Regions from separate parts of the Homo sapiens genome. Here region 1 is linked to region 2. The links are contacts of gene promoters, found by promoter capture Hi-C in human tissues and cell types (Jung and others, 2019). All regions are on one chromosome and are shown on one strand. The core of a region is centred on a gene start or on the middle of the fragment in contact, and the rest is flanking DNA. Distances in the headings are between cores, read along the strand shown. Region 1 has its middle 5.6 kb from the start of CDC42. Region 2 holds the start of CELA3A (chymotrypsin like elastase 3A).

Region 1 (7,354 bases), core at 29-2,528, 48 kb before region 2:
AGTAGAGACGGGGTTTCACCATATTGGCCAAGCTGGTCTTGAACTCATGACTTTGTGATCCACCTGCCTTGGCCTCCCAAAGGGCTGCGATTACAGGTGTAAGCCACCGCACCCAGCCCTCTTTTGGATTTTTTAATTACCCAAAAATAAGAACTACATTTTTTAGTGTTTACTGCAGGTATGGCTAATAGCTTTGCAGGTAGTAGTAGCTAATTTAATACTCACAGCCACCCTATGAGTTAAGAACTGTTACCCCCACTTTATGGTTACATGAACTGAAGCTCAGAGGTGTTAAGAGACTTGTCCATAGCCGCCATGCCAAGCAGTGGCAGAGCTGAGACTTGCACTCAGGAGGCTGGCTCTAGTTGACTATGACACTACCACACTATCAAGCAGGTTTATTATAGAGAAATTAGAAGATAAGCTTCAGGCCAGGCACAGTGGCTCACATCTGTAATCCCAGCACTTTGTGAGGCTGAGGCTGGTGGATCACCTGAGGTCAGGAGTTGAAGACCAGCCTGACCAACATGGTAAAACCCCATCTGTACTAAAAAACACACACACAAAAATTTGCTCGGTGTGGTGGCAGGTGCCTGTAATCCCAGCTACTTGGGAGGCTGAGGCAGGAGAATCATTTGAATCCAGGAGGCGGAGGTTGCAGTGACCCCGAGATCATGCCATTGCACTCCAGCCTAGGCGACAAAAAAGTGAAACTCTGTCTCAAAAAAAAAAAAAAAAAAAAGCCAGGTGCGGTGGCTCACGCCTGTAATTCCAGCACTCCGGGAGGCCGAGGTGGGCGGATCACTTGAGGTCAGGAGTTCAAGACTAGCCTGACCAACATGGTGAAACCCTTTCTCTACTAAAAATACAAAAATTAGCTGGGTGTGGCATGCACTTGTATTCGCAGCTACTCGGGAGGCTGAGACAGGAGAATCGCTGGAACCTGGGAGGCAGAGGTTGCAGTGAGCCGAGATTGCGCCATTGCACTCTAGCCTGGGCAACAAGAACAAAACCCCACCTAAAAAAAAAAAACAGGAAGATAAGCTTCAGCTGTAGTCCTACCTCTAATGTGGCTCACACCTATAATCCTAACACTTTGGGAGGCCGAGGCGGGTGGATCACTTGAGCCCAGGAGTTCAAGACCAGTCTGGGCAACATAGCAAGACCTGCCCCCACCCATCTCTACAAAAAATACAAAAACAAAACAAAACAAAAAAACTACATTGTGAACATCTTTCCATGTCAAATAAAGCATCATTTGTAAAGGCTGCATTTTACTCTCCGGGCATTGCAATATTTACCCAGACTCCTACTGTTGGAATTTGGGTTGTTTTGGGCTATTGTGAATTTATTACTATTGTAAAAATGCATAAGCTTCATTTTTTAAACTTGAGGGGAAAATGGTTGTTTCTTCCCTTCACAAGTCCAGCTGGCAGTGCCCTTTCCTTCATCCTGTCTCACAATCCCATGAATGTCCCCAGACAACGTCTGCCCTTTCCAGTAGCAGCAATATCTTGATGGGGTGTCACCCAACTGTTCAGCTTTTCCTGCCTTTATTCTGAGGACAAGGACTTACTTAGCACTATGTCTTTTATGTTGTCAGGTTTTTTGTCAGAAGAACCCTCCTAGACCTTTTCACAGCCCCAAACAGCAGTGGCAATGGTGTTACTATTACTTGACCCAATCTACCATGTCCCTCACTGCTGGCCCAGCCCCCAGCCTCCTAGTGCCTCCCCGCTACTGCCCCACTGCTATAGCTGCCTCATGTTAACAGGAGGGACAGCCTGTGGGACTCCGGCTCCCTTCCCGGTGGCTACCATTCCGGTGTCCATTCTTCCTTCTGGTAACAGCACTTCCATTTCTCCTAGAGCAGCCCCTGCCCCAACTCTCAATCCATGTGGCTCTAGAGATGACACTATCTCTAGTTGCGGGAATGGACACGTGACCCAGGCTTGGCCAATCACAGCATTATAGAGAGCCCTGTTGCCACACCATTTCAGCAACAGGCATGTGACCCAATGAGATTTAATTCTGGAACTTTGGTCACAACTATTCAGTTCAGTGAATCTCTGTTTGCTGAGAGTAGGATGTAATCGTGGCACTGCTGGCAGCCAGCTTCCCACTGCAAGCAGAGATGCTGCCTGAGAATGAGACCAAGACAGAGGGGGAAACAGAACTGAGAGATGGAGACATGAAACCAAGTCCCAGTGGCATTGCATGAGACATCAGATCCAGTCTTGCTTCAATCTTCAGTCACATTAGCAATAAATTCCCTCTATTGCCTGAACGAGGTTGAGTAGGTTTCTGTTGCTTATGACTGCCAAACTCTTGATGAATCACTGCCACCCCTGCCCTGCTTGTCTGCCCATGAGGTACTTGTCCCTACCCTCTAGGTAATAACTCCCAAATCTATACCTCTTCCAACCCCTATTCCCACCCCCAATTTTTTTTTTTTTTTTTTTTTTTTTGAGACAGAGTCTCACTCTGTCAACCAGGCTGGAGTGCAATGGTGCGATCTCAGCTCACTGCAACCTCCCCTCCCAGGTTCAAGTGATTCTCCTGCCTCAGCCTCCCGAGTAGCTGGGATTGCAGGCAACTGCTACCATGCCCAGCTAATTTTTGTATTTTTTAGTAGAGATGGGGTTTCACCATGTTGGCCAGGCTGGTCTCAAACTCCTGACTACAGGCGATCCACCCGCCTCAGCCTCCCAAAGTGCTGGGATTACAGGCGTGAGCCACCGCGCCCGGCATCCTACCCCCATTTTCAAATTTCCAGCTACTCAGCACCATCAAAATCATCTTCCAGCTCCCACCTACTCCAGGGTCTAAGCACCTATGTCTGCTTTTGGCCCCTACAGCCTTGTATATCCAGGAGTTCTCAACCTTTTCTGCATCACAGATCCTATACCCACAAAATTCATATCTAATTTCTAGAGGCTCCCTTCAAGCTCTCTGCTTTAGTCCAGGCATGGTGGCTCATGCCTATAATCCCAACACTTTGGGAGGCTGAAGCGGGAGGATCACTTGAACCCAGGAGTTTGAGACCAGGCTGGGCAACATACTGAGACCTCATCTCTACAAGAAATATAAAAACCGTGTGGTGGCAAGCACCTGTAGTCCCAGCTACTTGGGGAGGCTGAGATGTGAGGGTCGCTTGAGCCTGCGATGTTGAGGCTGCAGTGAGCCATGATCATGCCAGTGCACTACACTGCACTCCAGCCTGGGTGACAAAGCAAGACCCTGTCTCAAAAAAATAAATAAAAAGAATCTCAGCTGGGTGCGGTGGCTCACGCCTCTAATCCCAGCACTTTGGGAGGCCAAGGCGGGAGGATCACGAGGTCAGGAGATCAAGACCATTGTGGCCAACATGGTGAAACCCTGTCTCTACTAAAATACAAAAAATTAGCTGGGTATAGTGGCGCTCACCTGTAGTCCTAGCTACTCAGGAGGCTGAGGCAGGGGAATCGCTTGAACCCGGAAGGCGGAGGTTTCAGTGAGCAGAGATCGCACCACTGCACTCCAGCCTGGCCACAGAGCAAGACTCCGTCTCAAAAAAAAAAAAAAAAAAAAAGAATCTCTACTTTAACTCATTTGACAAAGCACAGCATTTATCTTCCTATATCATCGCTCTGATTAGGTCACTCCCTTACTCAGAAACCTTCAGTGTTTTCTCCTTTGTCTTCAGAATAAAATTTAAGACCTTTGGTTGGGTACAGTGACTCAGACCTGTAATCCCAGCACTTTGGGAGGCCGAGGTGGGCAGATCATGAGGTCAGGAGTTTGAAACCAGCTTGACCAACATGGTGAAACCCCATCTCTACTAAAAATACAAAAATTGGCTGGGTATGTTGGTGCATGCATGTAATCCCAGCTACTCAGGAGGCTGAGGCAGGAGAATCGCTTCAATCTAGGAGGTGGAGGTTGCAGTGCCTGGGTGACAGAGAGAGACTCCATCTCAAAAAAAAAAAAAAAAATTTAAGACTTTACCCAGACATTCTATGTCCTCTATGATCTTTGCCTTTCCAAAGTGATTTCCCTTTCTTTTTGTATTAGTCATAGTTCTCCAGAGAAACAGAACCAATAGAATGGTAATATATATTATTTATATATTACATATAAAACCATTCTGGCCATGTGCAGTGCCTCACACCTGTAATCCCAGCACTCTGGGAGGCCAAGGCGGGTGGAACACTTGAGGTCAGGAGTTCGAGACCAGCCTGGCCAACATGGTGAAACCTCATATCTACTAAAAATACAAAATTAGCTGTGTGTAGTGATGCGTGCTTGTAATCTCAGCTACTTGGGAGGCTGAGGCAGGAGAATCATTTGAGCCCAGGAGGTGGAGGTTGCAGTGAGCCGAGATCGAACAACTGCACTCCAGCCTGGGCGACAGAGGGAGACTCCATCTCGAAATAATAATAAAAATAAAACCATTCTCTATATAGAGAGTGGTTATATATACATATAGAATGGTCTATATATAATATATAAATTATATATTATATAATCATACATAATATATAAATTATATATAATAATCTCTATATATAAAATATACATATATATATATAGAGAGAAAGATTTATTATAAGAGATTTATTATAATTGGCTCACTCACACGACTATGGAGGACAAGTCCCAAGATACACAGGGTGAGTCACTGAGCTGGAGACCCAGGAGAGCCAATGGTGTAGCTCCAGTCCAAGCCTGAAGGCCTGAGAACCAGGAGAGCTGATGTTTCAGTTCCAGTCCAAAGGCCAGCAGGCTCAAGACAGAGGAAGAGCCAGTGTTTCTCTTTGAAGTCTGAAGGCAAGAAAAATTCTCCCTCAGTCAAGGGAGGGTCAGCCTTTTTGTTTTATGTTGGCCTTCAACTGATTGGATGAGAGGGCAATTTGTTTTGCTCAGTCTCCTGATTCAGATCTTAATCTCATCCAGAAACAAGTTTGCAGTCACACCGAAAATAATGTTTGACCAAATATCTGGGCACCCCATGGCCCAGTCAAGTTGACATATAAAATTAATCATCACACCTTCCACTACACACCTATGCTACAGCTAGACTGTATAATACTTAGTATCATACAGGCAGGAACCATGACTTCTCACCTCTCTGCCACTGCTCATGCTGATCCTCTTCCCTAAAACACCTTTCCTGCTTATCCATCCTACATGTCAAGTCCACTCTTCTTCCCACCATGAACTGTACATTTTGCCAACATCCACCTTGTGTCCTTTCCCACCTCTGTGCCTCTGTGGATTCAGTGGCTCCCTTCTCTGTCTGCCAAACTCCACTCTTCTCTCCTTCAAGGACTGGCCTAGGCCTTAGTTTTGAAATCTCCCGACAACCCCAGGCAACCAATCAGTCTTATATCACTTTGTATTTAAAGCATCTCATATTGGAATTATTTGTATCTATTTATGCTAAACTATTAGGCCATAAGCAGGCAGAGATCTTATTCATTTTATTTTTTTTTACCTAATTTCCTGGCACACTGCCATCCCTCAAAAATGTTTGATAAATGATGCATGAATGCATACACCACCACCTCTTACACAAAGCCAGCTCTGCTTCCCACTGCCAAAAGGGATTGCTGGCTCTTCTAAACCCCCAGAGCCCTTATCAGAGCCCCTCTCCAGGCCCTCTGTCTGGGCTATCATGTTTACCCACACTTTTTCCACCCTACTGCAAGCTCCCAGGGGCAAGCTTGGTTTTGGATGCATTGCTGTGCCCCTCACAGTCCTCTTCAGATCCCTAGAACACTTTGGCTGAATGAGAGAAGCCTCATACTGCATTCTCTGCCAAATGCAAGACTGCAAATCCACCACCATCTCCCCAAGGGCCTGCCAAGATTTACTAAAGAAGAAGAAGATCTACATTAAAGAGGCTCTCCTCCAAGGTCTTCAGGCTTGGGATTTGTGTGAGAAAATTCTAATTTAAGACTTTCTGTGTGATTCATAGGCAAAAACTGCGAAGAAAACCAAGGAAGTGATTATCATACAAATTCAGCTAGTGGCCGCCTCTAAAGGGGGTTAGAATCTGGAAGGGATGGGGGTACTGGGGGGGCAGTGTTGGCAGTGTTCTATTTCATGACCTGGGTGATGATTACATGGATGTTTGCCTTATCATTATTTATTCTATGGTACATGTTTTATTTGCTTTTCGTATGTGTAATAGTTCATTAAAAAATAAAAGGCCAGGTGCAGTGGTTCATGCCTGTAATCCTAGCACTCTGGGCGGCTGAGGCAGGTGGATCACTTGAGGTCAGGAGTTCAAGACCAGCCTGGCCAACAGGGCCCGTCTCTACTAAAAATACAAAAATTAGCCAGGCATGGTGATGCATGCCTGTAGTCCCAGCTACTTGAAAGGCTGAGGCAGGAGAATGGCTTGAACCCGGGAGGCGGAGGTCGCAGTGAGCCAAGATGGTGTCATTGCACTCCAGCCTGGGTGACAGAGCAAGACTCTGTCTCGAAATAAATAAATAAATAAATAAATAATAAAAGTTAGGGCCAGACACAGTGGCTCAAGGCTGTAATCCTAGCACTTTGGGAGGCTGAGGCGGGCAGATCACTTGAGGTCAGGAGTTCAAGCCTGGCCAACATGGTGAAATCCCATTTCTACTAAAAATACAAAAACTAGCAGGTGTGGTGGTGGGTGCCTGTAATCCCAGCTACTTGGGAGGCTGAGGCAGGAGAATCACTTGAACCCAGGAGATGGAGGTTGCAGTGAGAGGAGATCATGCCACTGCACTCCAGCCTGGGCAACAGAGTGAGACTCTGTCTCAAAAAAAAAAAAGTTAAAGCCTAGGCAACATAGCAAGACCCTCGTCTCTACAAAAAAAATACAAAAATTAGCCGGGAATGGTGGTGTGCGTCTGTAGTGCTAATTACTCAGGAGGTGGGAGGATCATTTGAGCCAGGAGTTCAAGGCTGCAGTGAGCCAAGATCACACCACTGCACTTGAGCCTGGGCAACAGAGTGAGACCACCGTCTCAAAAAAATAAATAAAAATTAATTAAAGTTGAAAATAAATATATTAAAGTATCTCTGTTGTTGCCAAAAGGTTGATGTGTTGTATAATTCATATCACTGAGACCGCAGCCCACCCCTCTTTCCTGATTCCCCTGGCTGGTCATGGCCCAGACCTCTCCAGGAGCCCCCCAACCCTACTGCCAGGACTCCAGCCGTGTTCCTGGTTTACCTGCTGCACCACAAGGGGTTACAGCTGCTGGGGCTGCCTCCACTAAGGGATCTGCTCCCTCTGCAGCCCCTCCAGCTGTTCAGCCTCCCTCCTCCACTTATGCCCACATCATTATGCTTGTCTAGGGACCTGAACCCTTCCTGGAGGCAGAGAAAG
Region 2 (7,805 bases), core at 1,299-3,798:
AGCTACACAGGAGGCTGAGGTGGGATTATTGCTTGGACCTAGGAGGTCAAGGCTGCAGTAAGCTGAGATCACACCACTGCACTCCAGCCTGGGCAACACAGCAAGACCCTGTCTCAAAAAAAAAAAAAACAAAGAAAAGAAAAGAAAAGAAAAAAGCACTGAGGAAATGAATTGTTAACATTTTTAATGTAAGTAAATTTCAGCTGGGTGCAGTGACTCACACCTGTAATCCCAGCACTTTGAGAGGCCGAGGCAGGTGGATCACCTGAGGTCAGAAGCTCCAGACTGGCCTGGCCAACACAGTGAAACCCTGTCTCTACTAAAAATACAAAATTAGCCGGGCTTGGTGGCGCGTGCCTGTAATCCCAGCTACTTGGGAGGTGAGGTAGGAGAATTGCTTGAACCCGGGTGGCAGAGTTTGCAGTGAGCCAAGATTGTGCCATTGCACTTCAGCCTGGGCAACAAGAGTGAAACTCTGTCTCAATAATAATAGTAATAATAATTTAATTTAATTTTTTTTTTTGAGACAGAGTCTCACTCTGTTGCCCGGGGCTGGAGTGCAGTGGTGCAATCTTGTCTCACTGCAACCTCCAACTCCCAGGTTCAAGGGATTCTCCTGCCTCAGCCTCCTGAGTAGCTGGGATTACAGGCGTGAGCCACCGCACCTGGCCTAATTTAATTAAATTTAAATAGCCACAGCACATCAAGTCCAGCCTTCTGAGCTTCCCTCCACTGGCCTTACAAGATCCCTCACTCCCTTATTGCTTTCAGACCTCAAAGCCCTGTAGTATCATCCTAGGAATCTAGAAATGAGTCTCTCAAAATCTCACTTCGTCAACACAGTGCCTGAAATTCCACCATCAGTGTGCCAACTCCTTGAGTTTAGCATTTCCTTCACCCCCGATTCCAATTTTAAGTTGCAAATAGCCCAGTGAGGGTTACAGATGAAACGGGCAAAACCTCCCCGTGAAGTAGATGGTCCAAGGGCTGCCTGGTCTTTGGAAGCTGAAGTGGACATTGCAAAGGGAGCAATGGTGTCAAGGCTGGATGCCACGCCATTAGAGCTTAGGGTCCAGAGCCCACGGTGGGAATGAGGGCAGCTGCTATTGCTCTTACCTGCCAGGGCCAGCTGTAGGGGACCGCATCCTCACCATGGACAACGCGGCTGGAAGAGTGAGAGGAAGGTGGGCCATAGCCTGAGGCTAGAGGGGAGAGGAGAGCTGTCAATCAGCTGGAGGGTCCCCAAAAGCAAAGAGGAGGCCAGGGTCCCAGTCCAAGCCATGCCTTCAACTGGCTGTGTGACCCCATGCAAGCCCCTTTCGCCCTCTGGACCTCAGTAACCACATATGAACAGTGAACATTTAAACTAGAGCAGGGCTTTCCAGAATCCCAGGAGTCCAGGGATAGAGATTCAAATGTGGCCTCCTTCATTGGGAGGATTGAAGAGCTTGATACACTTAGAACAATGCCTGGCCCTCGATGAGCCCTCAAAAAGTGAGAGCTATTGTCATACAGAGTGGAGGCTTTAAAGAAGGACTTCCTGGGTTCAAAGTGCAGCTCTGGGCTGTGTGTGGTGGTTCACACCTGTAATCCTAGTGCTCTGAGAGGCCGAGGCGGGAGGATCGCTTGAGCCCGGGAGTTTGAGACCAGCCTGGGCAACATAGCAAGACCTCATCTCTAGAAAAATAAAGTACAATAAAATAAAGTAGCCAGGTATGGTGGCATGTGCCTATAATCTCAGCTACTCAGGAGGCTAAGGTGGTAGGATTGCTTGAGGCCAGGATTTTGAGACCAGTCTGGGCAACAAAGCAAGACCCCATCTCTACAAAAAAAAAGCAAAAAATAAAAACATTAAGTGCAGCTCTGCCTTTTGTTCTATGATAAGCTACTTTACTTCCTTGAGGGTCAGTAAAATGGGGGATAATGATAGTACTGATCTCCTGAGGCTGTTGTGAGAATTACATGAGAAAGTATAAGAAAATCCCTAAACATTCTGCCTGGCATAGTAAGCACTCAATCAATGTTATCTGTTACCATTATTGTCAGTCAAGGGAGGCTGTTTGGAAGAGGTGGCCCTGAGCTGGAATGTAATATGGCAGAGAGACCAGGAAAAGGCCAGAGCATAGAATATGGAGCCAGGTAGGGGGAGTGAGAGGAGAGTTGGAGTGGTAAGTAGAACTGTGGAAATTCCAACCCAAGAAGTCCAACCACACAGTCCAAACTCTTAACCGTTTGACTTTGTTTACTGCCCCCATCAAGGACTTCCACCACAGCCCTTTGGGGGTCTTTCACCATCCACAGCTTCCCCTCCACTCTCCTGCTCCATCATAAGCTGAAAGCCCCTACAGTCATGCCCCCGGGTACAAGCTGAGACCCCCTCCTGTGGAACCAGGCATAGCATGTCATGGGACTCAGAGCGAGTGGTAGATTTCAAGGATTCCTAGTCCAGGGCAGCCCAGGGAGCACACAGACAGGTTGGGGTCTTACCAACGGCCACAAGGAGGAGGGAACTGAGCAGCCGGAGCATCATGAGTTTTGTGATGATAGGAAAAGGGCACAGAGCCTGGGGCTCTAATATAGGGCAGAAGGTAAGCAGGGGGGCTGATTGGGCCCCACTCCCAGAACAGGTGGTGGAACTCCAGGTCTCCCATGGTCCAAGGCCACAGTCCTCGCCTGCTGCAGATGGACAAGTGACAGCCAAAGGGAGGACCTAGCGTTCCCTCCAACAGGTGGCTGGACAGGTGGTGTGGAGTGGCCAACTGATAACAAGAGTTCAGGAAGAAAAGCTCATGTCAGGACAAGACCTCCTCTTTCGGAAAGAACAGGGGCACTGGAACCGGGCAGACCACGGTTCAATCCTGGTTCTGCCACCTTCAAGCTCTGCGACTTTGGGCGCATGGCTTAACCTCTCTGAGTCTCAGTTTTCTGCTCTCTAACATGAGATTTATATTAGTACCCACCTCCACAAAAAAATTCTTGTTGAGCACTTTTTCTCTATGTATCAGGCACTGTTCTAGGGGATACAGCTGTGAAAAATGCATGGTCTCAGCCCTTCTAGAGTTTGAGTCTAGGCCAGGAGCGGTGGCTCACACCTGTGATCCCAGCGCTTTGGGAGGCCAAGGTGGGAGGATCACTTGAGGTCAGAAGTTCGAGACATGATGAAACCCTATCTCTACTAAAACTACAAAAATTAGCCAGGTGTGGTGGTGAGCACCTGTAATCCCAGCACCTGTAATCCTAGCTACTGGGAGGCTGAGGGAGGAGAATCACTTGAACCTGGGAGCGGAGAGGCAGAGGCTACAGAGAGCCGAGATCATGCCACTGCACTCCAGCCTGGGCCACAGAGCAACACTGTCTCAAAAAACAAAAACAAAACCAAAAAAAAAAACAGAGAAGAAAAGAAAATGAAACATAGGTGATTGGGGTAGGAATGGGAGTAAGTCATTTAGATGGGGGGGACAGAGAAAGTGACATTTGGGCTGAGGAGGTCATATCTGATGGAGTCCTGAGGATAAGTAAAAGCCAGCCACGGGAATCCCTGAAAGAAACGCGCTCTGAAGGGAGGCGACAGCAGGTGCGAAGTTCTGGAGGCTGCAATGGGCTTGACTTGTTCAAGGAAGGGGAGGCCAGTGTGACAGGAGCTTGGTAGTCAAAGTAGAGAGGGGTGGGAGATGAGGTCAAAGAGCAGGCGACCCCGAAAGTGGAATTCACAGGTGATCCAGCCGTTTCCCTCCTAGGTCTATACCGTGAGAAAACCTTAGGCATGTGCTCCAGGAGGTGTGGATGAGATTGTTTGCCGCAGCCCCTGTTCTCAAAACTCAACAGCAAAGACCTAGAAACAACTCCCACGTCCATCAAGGTTCATAGGTCAATATGTGTAGCATATTCACACAATAGATTTTTTTTTTTATAGTGGTGCGATCTTGGCTCACTGCAACCTCCACCTCACGGGTTCAAGCGATTCTCCTGCCTCAGCCTCCTGAGTAGCTGGGATTACAGGCGCGCACCACCACGCCCGGCTAATTTTTGTATTTTTAGTAGAGACGGGGTTTCACCATGTTGGCCAGGCTGGTCTCCAACTCCTGACCTCTGGTGATCCACCCACCTCGACCTCCCAAAGTACTGGGATTACAGGCATGAGCCACTGCATCCGGCCAGACGGGGCAATTTAAATAGATCCCTCCTGGGGGAAAGTCAGGCATCTTGCTGAGCAGGTTTTGTTTTAGGAGTGAACCCCCTCCAATCACAGCCTAGCCACTCTGATAGCCTGGGTTCGTGGAACGTGTGTGGACACAAGGGAAGCAGCTGTGAAAATCCTTTATACTGTGATAAAAATAGCCATGCCCTCCCCTACCCTCTGTTCCCTATGTGCCCGGACATGTTTGCTCAGCTTGAAAGCTCTGAGCCATTCCCCAGACCCTACGCCAGGGAAGAAGGAGGGAGGGGCCCAGGAGGTGGCTGGGGAGAGATAGGGTTAGGTCCGATAAGCCCAGATTCCACTGTAGAGTGTCTGAAACCCACAGGGCCTAAAACGCGATCTAATCCAACCACTTTTATTTGACAGAAGGGAAAATGATGGGCCAGGCACAGTGGCTCACGCCTGTAATCCCAACACTTTGGGAGGCCGAGGAGGGTGGACCACCTGAGGTCAGGAGTTCGAGACCAGCCTGACCAACATGGAGAAACCCCATCTCTACTAAAAACACAAAATTAGCCGGGTGTGGTGGCACATGCCTGTAATCCCAGCTACTAGGGAGGGTGAGGCAGGAAAATCGCTTGAACCTGGGAGGCGGAGTTTGCGGTGAGCCGAGATCGTGCCATTGCACTCCAGCCTGGGCAATAAGAGCAAAACTCTGTCACAAAAAAAAAAAAAAGAAGAAGAAAATGATGACCCAGAGAAAAGCCAGGACTTGGTCAAGTTTCCCTGGTTTGTTACTGCTTGGCCTGGTGAAGGGTAGCCCACGGACACGGGAGGGTCCACTCTCCCTCCCCCAACTTCAACCGAGAAGCCTTCCCGGCTTCTTACCCAGGTGACCTTGAGCAAGTCCCAGCCTCTCTGTCGGCTCTGCTGGGTCCCCAGGGAGAGGGGCTCCCTGACGCCAACTGTCCCACCACAACCCCTGCCTGATTGGTTACTTCAAGGCCTTATGGACTGACACTGGCAGTTGCACGGCTGATTAACTCTCCGAGGGTTTTCTGGCCTAGGAGTAGCTTGAGTGAAATCCCTGAAGATGAACCTCCTTCCAACACCTGCCCCGCAAGAGGGAAGATGGAGGGGTTAGATCTACTTTAGGCCTCAGCCTGAAGCAAAGCAAGCCATTTCCTGAATGGGAGGTGGAGGTTAGGTCGGAGAGTATGCAAAATTAGGAGGTCAGTCTGGGAAGGAGAGGGAGGGCGGGGAAGCTGGCGAGGGGACGGAGGGGAAGCTGGTGAGCCTTTTTCCCGGGACTGGGGGAGTTCCATTCTTTCCAGTTCCCACCCCACAGGAAGCTCTTTGAGGATCAAAACTTTATCTTATTCATCTTCCGATTCCCAGTACCTAGAAGGGAGCCTGGCACATGGTAGGTTTTCAACAGCATTTATTCAAGGAGACAACAAATGAATGAAGGAAGGGAAAGGACTCTTCAAATGCCCTCCGCTTCCTACCCTGAAAGCACGGTTGAGCCTGATATTCATGCAGGATGCACCTGGAGGGTGTCCCCTCTGTGTGGCCTGGAAAAGCGCAGCAGCATCTGGATGGTGTCCTGATGGGCACATTCTAGAGATATTAATAGATGTTTGATGATAAATGGACCCACTAGAACGGAGCCCCCATGGGGCGGGGGGTTTTGTGTGCTTTGTTCACTGCTGTGGCCTCGGCTCCCAGAATATAACCCAGTGGGCACTCAGTGAAGAACTAAAGGTCAGATGGGATTGGAAAATATGAGCTCAAACAAAGTTCAAATTGTCCTTTCCTACAGGACTTCTCAGAGCCTTTAATATGCCAGTGTTCACGGTGAATCACACACAGTGGTCCTAAGTCCGGGACTCTGGTGCCTTGTTGCCCTGTAGTTTCTGTGAAAATAAGATATTCAAAATCTAAGCTGTTGGAACTTTAAAATACCTTAGACTTAAGGGAATGAGATTATGGGACCTGAGTAATGTAAACAGGAAGGCATAACTTTTGTTTGTGTTATCGATTAGCTTTTCCTTAACTACATTGTTTTATAAAATGTTGTAAATGACTAAAGGGTGACAGGGCAGACTGTTTCCCTCTCAACAGTCAATCTTCATTATAGATTAACTTCCTTCTTTTCTCTCTCACACAAAGACTTCATGACTATCACATTATCTAAGATAGAATGTTAAATACACAAATTGGAAAGGAAAATAAAACAAAGTGTATGGAAAAGAAGACAAATTTTAACTAGCTATATTGTTGTAACTCATAAACCAGCCTGGTATAGAAATGTTATAGTCCTACTAAATTTGTTTCCTGCCTGTATGAGCAAGATCATAATTTTTTTTTTTTTTTGGAGACGAAGTCTCACTCTTGTCCCCCAGGCTGGAGTGCAATGGCTAGATCTCGGCTCACTGCCACCTTCGCCTCCCGGGTTCAAGTGATTCTTCTGCCCTCAGCCTCCCAGGTAGCTGGGATTACAGGCACCTGCCACCACACCAGGCTAATTTTTGGATTTTTAGTAGAGGCAGGGTTTCACCACATTGGCCAGGCTGTTCTCAAACTCCTAACCTCAGGTGATCCACCCACCTTGGCCTCCCAAAGTGTGGGATTACAGTCGTGAGCCACCACGCCCAGCATTTTTTTTTTTTTTTGAGACGAGTCTTGCTCTTGTCTTGCTCTTTTTTTTTTTTTTGAGATGAGTCGTGCCAGACTGGAGTGCAATGGCACGATCTCAGCTCACTGCAACCTCTGCCTCCCAGGTTAAAGCAATTCTCCTGCCTCAGCCTCCCAAGTAGCTGGGGTTACAGGCATGTACCACCACGCCCGGCTAATTTTTTGTATTTTTAGTAGAGATGGGGTCTCACCAGGTTGGCCAGCCTGGTCTCAAACTCCTGACTTCAAATGATCTGCCCGCCTCAGCCTCCCAAAATGCCAGGATTACAGGCGTGAGCCACCACGCCCGGCGGGACTTTAACTTTTAACTTTGGAGCACTTACTCCTCTTCTCTGGAGCCCATGTTTCTGGATGACTATTCTCAGATTTTTGCTGGAATAAATTCTTAAAAACCGGATTCTGATCTCTTTGATGACTACAGGTCAACATTTCCCAGCTACCAGCCCCAGCTGTCTCAGATGGGTCAGCAGTGTCAGGGATGGGGAAGGAGGCCCTGCAGGTGCCCCACCTGTGGTACAAAGAAGCCACCATGGGAACCCAGGGCTAGGACAGTATGCAGGTATCTCTTGTCCCAGGGAAGGCATCATCCCGGCTGGGATCCAAGGAGGTTATTGAGCAATGGCAGTGGGGACAGGCACAGCCCTTTCCCCACGGCCAGTGCCATACCTTCCCGATGTTACAGGAAAGGGGTCCCAATCTAGATGCCAAGAGAGGGTTCTTGGATCTTGTGCAAGAAAGAATTCAGGGCGAGTTCGTAGAGGAAAGTGAAAGCAAGTTAATTAAGAAAGTAAAGGTATAAAGAATGGTTACTCCATAGACATGCCCTTTTTTATGGTTATTTCTTGCTGATATGCTAAACAAGGGGTGGATTATTCATGCCTCCCCTTATTTTAGGCCATATAGGGTAACTTCCTGACGTTGCCATGGCATTTGTAAATTGTCGTGGTGCTGGTGGGAGTGTAGCAGTCAG

What was found. Contacts are between HindIII fragments. The study calls those that stand out against the background at their distance.
Region 1: a contact is called between a fragment that was not itself captured here and the fragment with the promoter of CELA3A in region 2, in 1 of the 25 tissues and cell types used here (pancreas).

What each region holds. Positions count from the first base shown.
Region 1 is chr1:22,043,404-22,050,757 of GRCh38, reverse strand. No RefSeq gene overlaps it. Among named protein-coding and RNA genes, the nearest start is that of CDC42, 5.6 kb to the left of the region's middle. RefSeq lists an enhancer at 5,456-5,625. The HindIII fragment of the contact is 4,522 bases long and covers 1-3,539 here.
Region 2 is chr1:21,996,400-22,004,204 of GRCh38, reverse strand. CELA3A (chymotrypsin like elastase 3A) reads right to left here and starts at 2,548. Exons shown (of 8, transcript NM_005747.5): 1 at 2,488-2,548; 2 at 1,117-1,202. The coding sequence starts at 2,530. It also overlaps a transcript of CELA3B not described here. The HindIII fragment of the contact is 21,174 bases long and covers 1-7,805 here.